Linked DNA regions of Homo sapiens: region 2 is linked to region 1. Evidence: promoter capture Hi-C in human tissues and cell types (Jung and others, 2019). All regions are on one chromosome and are shown on one strand. Each heading gives the region's core, a stretch centred on a gene start or on the middle of the fragment in contact. The rest is flanking DNA. Distances are from core to core; before and after follow the strand shown.

Region 1 (4,435 bases), core at 1,343-3,842:
ACCTCCGCCTCCCGGGTTCAAGCAATTCTTCTTCTCCCAGCCTTCCCAGTAGCTGGGACTACAAGCGGCCGCCACCATGCCTGGCTAATTTTTCTTGTATTTTTAGTAGAAGTGGGGTTTCACCATTTTGTCCAGGCTGGTCTCAAACTCCTTACTTCAGGTGATCTGCCCGCCTTGGCTCCCCCAAAGTGCTGGGATTACAGGCATGAACCATTGCACCTGGCCTTGATTCCCTTTTTAATGCACAAATATGAAGAGCAATATTCACCAAACTCTAATAAAATGTAAGTGCTCTTGCAATCCTATCTGTACTATCCTTCCAAATTATTTTTAATCCCAGCTCTTTCTATCTTTGTTTAGACACAGGTGTAATTTCTGCTTAGTTGTTTCATGATGTAGCTCAGTGTCTGTGTCTCTTTCTTACTTTGCAGTGTGGAGTAGTTTTCTACCAGGACAAAGTTAACAACCCATAAAGGTCTCTGCTTAAGTAAGAAGTCCATTTCTGTGAACCATAACCCAGATATAGCAACGCCAGACTGTCTCCTATCAAAATTTATTGAAATGGTAGATTTTTGGTAAGTACAGAAACACAAGCGAAGGAACCAGGAGGAACGTGCACCCCTCTACCCGTGGGGCAGAGGCACGTTTCCCTTTTAATGGTAAAAGCAAACAGGTGGGAAACAGCTTTCTATCCTGAAGCCGTTTTAACTGTTCAACCCTTAGATTACTATAAACAAGAGAGGAATGGATTGCATTAGTCGCTGGTTGAAAGCAGCAATGCCATTTCCTTTCCCATAATAACACTGTTTAGCTCAGTCCCTTCTGGGGCTAATCCCCTATTACACCCACCGGAAACACAGATACTAACCAAAGCATGTGAGTCTCTTCCCTGAGTCCATTTCTGCTAAAGATTGTCTGAAAGATGAATTGGTCCACGGAAGCCAGGTGACCTACTGGCTTGTTTAATGATGCCTGGGCTTCCTCCAGGAACAACACAATTCCCTCCAATCTCAGCTCTCCTTATCCCTGCTAGAGCTCACAAGCAGGCTAGATATCACCCCAGGAGCTGAGCCCCCTCCAGTCTGAGGCAGATGTGGGAAGAAGGCCAACAAGTCACAAGTAGATCTCTGGCTCCAACTCTGCTCAGCAGAAACGCCTACAATTTGCCCATCTTCAGTCCTGCGAGCGTCAGAGATGAAGCAAGTTTCAGATGCCTAGAAGCTTTACTCTCTGTTCCTCCAGGATTCCTGCGGTCACACCTTGCAACCAGTCTCCCACTCATCTGCCACAGTTTCCCTAAATCAGATTCTCTGAATCTGGAAGTTCCAGGAAATCTTAGGCCGAGTCCAGTGACATTACTCGATGCAACAGCCCAACTGTTTCTCCAGAGATGCTGGTTCTTGGTGACAATGTCCCTTCTTGGAATGGTTATTTGAGGTTGGGCCCAGATAAGAGGGGCTCCATGGCTCACCGGAGTTGGCGATTAACGCCTCTGGAGCGCCTCTGGTTTTGTTGGGGTCCCCTGTGAGCTCGACGCTCGTGCTGCGGTTATTATCTGGCTCACCTGTTATCTTCCTCTGGAGGCAGCGGTTGATCAAAGTGGAGAAGAAGTTGGGAAAGGATGGGCTGGAGAAGTAGTACACCACGGGGTCCAGCATGCTGTTCATGTAGGTGAAGCTGAGAGTGATAAAGAACGCCAGGTCCACCGAGCGGTACACTTCACAATTCTGCGTGCCCGAAGTGTGCAGGAGCCAGAAGATGTGGATCCGCACAACCACGCTGGGAAGGAAGCAGATGACAAAGACGATGGCCACCACCATGATGAAGGTGATGGCTCTCTTGATCTTGGCATGCCGGTCCATTTGTCTCTGCCGCAGGCTCCAGATAATTCTGGCTGAGCAGAACAGGATGATGCCCAGGGGCAGGAAGAACTCCAGGAGGAACATAGCTTCGTGCCACCGGAAGGTATGGCAGATGCTGAAGCTGATGCACACATTTGCAGTGCCATTCTGGATCAGCAACTTCTTCTTCAGGAGGTGGACTGTTAGGCCAACAGTGATGCCCCACAGAAGGCAAGAGATGATGGCTGCTGTCCAATTGGAGATCTTGTTCAGGGCGTGGTGGGGATGGACCACCCGGAAATACCTGTCTACCGCCACCACCGTGAGGAATATGATGCTGCCCTGGCGGTTCATGGCAAACATGAAGAGCACCAGCCGGCAAGGGATGTCCCCAAACTTCCAGTCTGAACGCCGCACATAGTAGTCCATCACGAACGGCAGGCAGATGATCAGTAGAAAGTCAGCTACTGCCAGGTTGAACAGGAAAATCCGGCTGGATTTCCAGGACTTGAGGTGGAAACAGAAAATCCACAGGGCAAGGCCATTGCCCAGAAGCCCAAAGATAAACTCCAGCCCCAACACCGGCGGCAACACCTTGGCAATGAAGTCATCTCGGAACACACAGCAGTTCTTCTTGTCTATTTCCAGAAAGTGATCCTGCAGATGGTGCCGATTCATGAGTGCAGCTAGTGAGTCCGATGGAGCGCCTCGCCTAGTGAATGCTCCAGCAAAGTGGCGTGTGTCTGTATGGTGAACGTGTGGTTCCGTGCCTGCCTTTATGTCATGTCAGGGTGTTGAAATAGATGACTGAATGGTTATCAGGAAACTACGAAATCTCTAAAAAAAAAAAAAAAAAAGCCAGCAAGGCTCTTATGCAACCTGCTGTTTGCATAAACAAATAATAAAAATCCCCTGGGCATACAGGAACCCACCAAATGTCTTAAATGTAAAGGATAAGTTTAGGCAAGCTGACTGTCATTCGAAAATCAGTGAAACATGAAGGACATCCCTTTGGAAGGCTGGGTGCTTGTATGCCAACTGAGTACTCAACGTTGCAGAATTAATTCACCGTCATCTGCTTGGCTGACATAATTAACAAAACAACAACAATAGCAATAATAATTTTTGGTGCCAAACAGTGAGGTTTTCCAGAAACACTAAGAATTAGCATGAAAAATTAACAGGCATATGACATAAACAGTAGCAGGCATATGATTTCTTTTGGAAATGCTGAGAAGACAGTAGTTGCCTGTTTGATGAGGACAGACTGGTTGAATTTGACCACTTTTCCTATGCTACCTTTCTGTACAAACATGGAGTGCTTTTCCATATCAGAACTCTGCCATTCATCTCCAGTTAGGAAAAAAAAAAAAGCCTGCTGGAGAGTGTAATATTTCATAAGATGTTTGAAAACTTGAGCCCAGTTTCAGTGGCATGTTAAAATAAGTTGGGTTTTTTGTTTGTTTATATTAGATTTTGATATGCTTCTGTGCTCAAGTGATTTAAGTATGTGATTTCTTTTTTTTGCAAACTTTGAATTAATGAGAAAAGGATTCATGAGGCTAGTTGTAAGCTGTAGCAAATCGGGTGTACTTTGTGCTACAAATTTGTTTTTCTGTGTCGCTCTGCATGAAGAGGGGTACCTTAGGATAGAGCATGGGGTTAGTACCCCATAAGCTGTCTGTTCTAGACAGCCCAGGAAACTGGTCAGTAAGAAAGTTGGTTGCAGGTCCCTGAAACAAACAAAAAACTGGATGAGGTCTCTAACTTGTTTTATGTCCTTGGGACCTTAGGATGTGATTTTTTTTTTTTGAGACAGAGTCTCACTCTGTCACCCAGGCTGGAGAACGGTGGAACAATCTCAGCTCACTGCAACCTCCGCCTCCCAGGTTCAAGCAATTCTTCTGCCTCAGCCTCCTGAGTATCTGGGACTACAGGCGTGCGCCACCACGCCCAGCTAATTTTTTGTATTTTTAGTAAAGACGAGGTTTCACTGTGTTGGCCAGGCTGGTCTCGAACTCCTGACCTTGTGATCCACCCGCCTCGGTCTCCCAAAGTGCTGTGATTACAGGCGTGAGCCACTGCGCCTGGCCGTGATTTTTTTTTTTTAATGAACTTTATTTTTTAGGGCAGTTTTAGATTCACAGCAAAATTGAGCAGAAAGTACGGACGGTCCTGTGCACTCTGTCTCCACACACGCAAAACCTCCCCCACTAAGTATGTGATATTTTTAAAGCCCCCATTTTTGTAAAATTAAACTTAGAGTGACAGGACCTAAGAGGACATGGAACCCTGCCTTGTAGCGGGACACCATTGCACACATTGTTTCTCTGCTTGTCAGTGCGATTGGGTGTCATCCTATAGAATGTTTTCTCCCTTTAATATTTTGGTCTTATGAATTCTTCCATGCAGGAGACTTCTAAACTATGTTGCTTCTACTTTGAGTTATATAATGTAAATTTCTTCCTTTTTTTTTTTTTTTCTTTTGAGATGGAGTTTCACTCTATCGCCCAGGCTGGAGTGCAGTGGCTCACTGCAACCTCTGCCTCCTGGGTTCCAGTCATTCTCCTGCCTCAGCCTCCCAAGTAGCTGAG
Region 2 (4,510 bases), core at 1,979-4,478, 140 kb before region 1:
TGTTCATAAAAGCGACATATATTTGTTTTTGTTTGAGATGGGTCTGGCTGTGTCGCCCAGGCTGGAATGCAGTGACATGATCATGGTTCACTGCAGCCTCAATCTCCCTGGCTCAAGCAATCCCCACCTCAGCCTCCTGAGTAGTTAGGACCATAGGCGTGTGCCACTACGCCCAGCTAATTTTTGTATTTTTTGTAGAGACAGGGTTTCCCAGGCTGGTCTTGAACACCTGGGCTCAAGTGATCTGCCTGCTTCATTCTCCTAAAGTGTCTGTTTTCTTTAATTACAGAAAATAAAAAGTGAATGTTTACTCATTTCCACCCCCAGGGGAACCTCCATGGACAGTTGTATGCATATCTTTGCAGGCTTTTCTGTGGTTATGCAAACATGGAGACTTTTCTTTTTCAGTTATTCGCTGCAATGTGAGACATTTGTTAATATATTGTAATATGCCTTTATTTTAACTTCACACTGTTATTGCCACTATAAAATAGAAATAAAATAATGAAAACTGTTTTTAAACCAGAGACTGAGGCTGGACACAGTGGCTCATGCCTGTAATCCCAGCACTTTTGGAAGCCAAGGCAGACAGATCACCTGAGCTCAGGAATTTGAGACCTGCCTGGGCAACATGGTGGAACCGCATCTCTACAGAAAATACAAAAATTAGCCAGGTGTGGTGGTGCTTGCCTGTAGTCCAAGCTACTTGGGAGCCTGAGGTGGGAGAATCGCTTGAACCCAGGAGGTGGAGGTTGCAGTGAGCTGAGATCGCGCCACTGCACTCCAGCCTGGGCAATGGGAACATGACCCTGCCTCAAAAAAACAAAAAAAACCCAGGGATTGTAGAGACCGTAGAAAGCAATAACGCTGTATGTCTTAGCTTACAGCAGAAAAAATACTCTTCTGAATTTTTCTGAATAGTCAAATTGTTCTCTATATGTGAAAACTGAAGAAATAAATGGTTTTCCAGTGAGTGGATGAAATATTCTCAAACTACCATGTGGTTGATGTAAGACCTGCTGATTAGACTGTGCTGTTCACTTGCATGCATCGTAAACCTGAGGGCTGTTCCTTGTCCATGCGTGCATCTTTTGTAGCTCATATTTGATGCCGTGCTCAAGATCATGTATGCGGCAGTGGTTCCTTGGAGTGCAGCTGTGGAGCAACTGGTGAAACAGCACCTGGAAATGGACCATCCCAAGTAAGATGACTGTCTACGAAACAATGTTGTTATGCTCTGGAGAAACATTGTGTTTTGAGTTGACGTTCATTTATGTTTCTATATTGTTTGCTGTGTCCCATAGTACTTCATAAAAAAGACAATCCATGTTAATATGGGTAAATTTGCTTTCAGAGTCAAGTTATTACAGGAAAGTTACAAACTAATGGAGATGAAAAAACTTTTACGAGGCTATGGAATAAGAGAGGTAAATCTCTTAAACAAGGAAATAATGGTAAGTACACTCTTCGAAGAGTCTTTTTTCTCTTTCATTTCTGGGGCAATATGGAAAGCTTAATGAGGAATTTATATTCTAGGAGGCTAATAGAGCTAGGTTTTTCCACTACATTTCTTTTGTTAGATATGATGTTAATAAGGTGTTCAGTTATTTATGAGAGTATTTATTCTTTTTGACATGGAGTTTCGCTCTTGCCGCCCAGGCTGGAGTGCAATGGCGCGATCTCGGCTCACCACAACCTCCGCCTTCTGGGTTCAAGTGATTTTCCTGCCTCAGCCTCCTGAGTAGCTGGGATTACAGGCATGCACTACCACGCTTGGCTAATTTTTTTTTTGTATTTTTAGTAGAGATGGGGTTTCTCCATGTTGGTCAGGCTGGTTGGTCTTGAGCTCCCGACCTCAGGTGATCTGCCTGCCTCGGCCTCCCATAGTGTTGGGATTACAGGCGTGAGCTACCGCTCCTGGGCTTTTTATGAGAGTATTAAAGACACCAAATAGGCCAGGTGCGGTGGCTCACACCCGTAATCCCAGCACTTTGGGAGGCCAAGGTGGGTGGATCATGAGGTCAAGAGATCAAGACCATTCTGGCCAACATGGTAAAACTCCGTCTCTGCTAAAAATGCAAAAAAATTAGCAGGGTGTGGTGGCATGTGCCTGTAGTCCCAGCTACTTGGGAGGCTGAGGGAGGAGAATCACTTGAACCTGGGAGGCAGAGGTTGCAGTGAGCCGAGATTGCGCCACTGCACTGTAGCCTGGCGACAGAGGGAGACTCTGTCTCAAAAAAAAGACACCAAATAGTAAATTAAGAAGCTGTAGAAGAAAGAAGACAGGACTGTGGAATGATCAGAATATAAATCATGTTTTAATCTTTCATACAATTTAGTTTTTTGCTGCATTATTTAAATTTTTTTGCCACTTTGCTCTTATAAGCAAGTGATTTCTTGGTTTTCTGTGAGTTCTATAACAAAGAAATGTTCATATTGTCTTTTGCAGAGAGTGGTTAGATACATTCTCAAACAAGATGTCCCATCTTCTTTAGAAGATGCTTTAAAGGTAGCCCAAGCGTTTATGTTATCTGATGATGAGATCTACAGTCTAAGAATTATTGACCTGATTGATAGAGAACAGGTTTGTAAGTTTTATGTTGTCATTTCATATGGCTTCTTTGTTTCTGTGTTGTTGTTGTTGTTTTTTGAGACAGGGTCTCGCTCCATTGCCCAGGCTGGAGTGCAGTGGCTGTGTTTCACCATGTTGGTCACGCTGGTCTCAAACTCTCAACCTGAAGTAATCCACCTGCCTTAGCCTCCCAAAGTGCTGAGATTACTGGTGTGAGCTACCATGCTTGGCCTGTTGTGTTTTTAAATGTCATTATTTTTATATGATTCTATAATCATAGCAATGCCTAGGAATTAACTCTTCAGTATCTAGGATCGTATTTTAAATTTATTTTATTGTTTGCTGTCATCAAAAATGGATTTTCAGCATCAGGATGGATAGCTGATGCATGCAGGGCTTAAAATGTGCATGACAGGTTGATGGGTACAGCAAACCACCATGGCACATGTAACAAGCCTGCACTTCCTGCACATGTACCCTGAAACTTAAAGTAAAATAAAATAAAAATGGATTTTCGGATTATTAAAACATTGAACCATAATCTGTTTTTCCAAATGATGTATTTTCATCTTTAAATAGAAAAGAAAGAGGTAAGGCCACACCGTCCTTTGCAAATACCAGCTGTTTTTTCTTCCTTTCAAACCCTGTTTATAGGGTGAAGACTGTCTCCTTCTGTTGAAGTCTTTGCCTCCTGCTGAAGCTGAGAAAACTGCAGAAAGAGTCATCATATGGGCACGACTGGCATTACAAGAAGAGCCAGATCATTCTAAAGAGGTGACATTTTCACTAAGTAAAATATAAGTAAATCCAATTTTTATGGCTATTAATCAATAGGATAGAAAAGATGGACTTACACATATGAAGATCTGCTCTTCTCACTGCTAGGGTGGCCTAGTGAAAAAATTCCTGGGTAAATTTACTACTAGGAGAAAAAAAACAATTGTGGCTGCCTTGGAGCGGCTGCTTGAGCCCACAGAGAATGACCTGGGAGCTGTGGGTTAGCAGGTGTCTTGGAGCAGCTGTTGTACACGAAAGGTTTCTATAAAGCGTTGCAATATAAACAATGTTTTGTGTTATATAGGACATAATTATTGTCAAATAGTAATGTCAGCTACAAAACCAATATAAATCTATATAATCTTATAACATTGAAACTTAGAAATGGTTTTAAGAGAGTTTACTTTTTTGCAGATGAGGAATACTTGGTTTTTCCAGAATAGCTGGATTCTTACTGATTTTTAATTTTTTCTCTTTTTTTAAATATTATATATAGGAGATGAGGTCTTGGTATGTTGCCCAGGCTGGTCTTGAACTCCTGAGTTTAAGTTCTCTTCTAGCCTTAGCCTCCCAAGTAGCTGGGATTACAGGCATGCACCACCATGCTCAATAGTTGGGTTTTTTTTTTCTTTTCTTTTCTTTTTTGAGACAAGAGTCTTGCTCTGTTGCTCAGGCTGGAGCACAGTGGCGCGATCTTAACTCACTGCAACCTCTGCCTCTCAGGTTGAAGCGATTCTCCTGCCTCAGCTGGGAGTAGCTGGGATTACAGGCGTCCGCCACCACACCTGGCTAATTTATGTATTTTTACTAGAGACGGGTTTCACCATGTTGGCCAGGCTGGTCTCAAACTCCTGACGCCAACTGATCTGCCTGCCTCGGCCTTCCAAAGTGCTAGGATTACAGGTGTGAGCCACCACACTTGGCCAATAGTTGGATTTTTAAACCCCTAAGGATAGATACCTCCCAACTTCTCTCAGTCCATTTCAGTAATGTTTTTTGCTGTTGGAAAATGAAGTTATTGTTGTTTTTAACACCTAATATTTGCTATGCAATAGGCATTAGGTTAAATAGCTACTTCTTGTTCATAACAAAGGTGTAAAGTAGTTCCTATTGTTGTCTCCTTATGTATTAAGTTCAAAAACCAAAATATGAAAGTAAATG

Evidence for each region. Contacts are between HindIII fragments. The study calls those that stand out against the background at their distance.
Region 2: a fragment that was not itself captured here is called in contact with the fragment with the promoter of HCAR3 in region 1 in 2 of the 25 tissues and cell types used here (IMR-90 fibroblasts and mesenchymal stem cells).

The regions. Positions count from the first base shown.
Region 1 is chr12:122,714,219-122,718,653 of GRCh38, forward strand. HCAR3 (hydroxycarboxylic acid receptor 3) reads right to left here and starts at 2,593. Exons shown (of 1, transcript NM_006018.3): 1 at 538-2,593. The coding sequence starts at 2,519. The coding sequence ends at 1,356. The HindIII fragment of the contact is 11,637 bases long and covers 1-4,435 here.
Region 2 is chr12:122,574,446-122,578,955 of GRCh38, forward strand. KNTC1 (kinetochore associated 1) reads left to right here. Exons shown (of 64, transcript NM_014708.6): 28 at 1,098-1,201; 29 at 1,355-1,454; 30 at 2,450-2,584; 31 at 3,227-3,346. Among named protein-coding and RNA genes, the nearest start is that of KNTC1, 49 kb to the left of the region's middle. The HindIII fragment of the contact is 4,952 bases long and covers 753-4,510 here.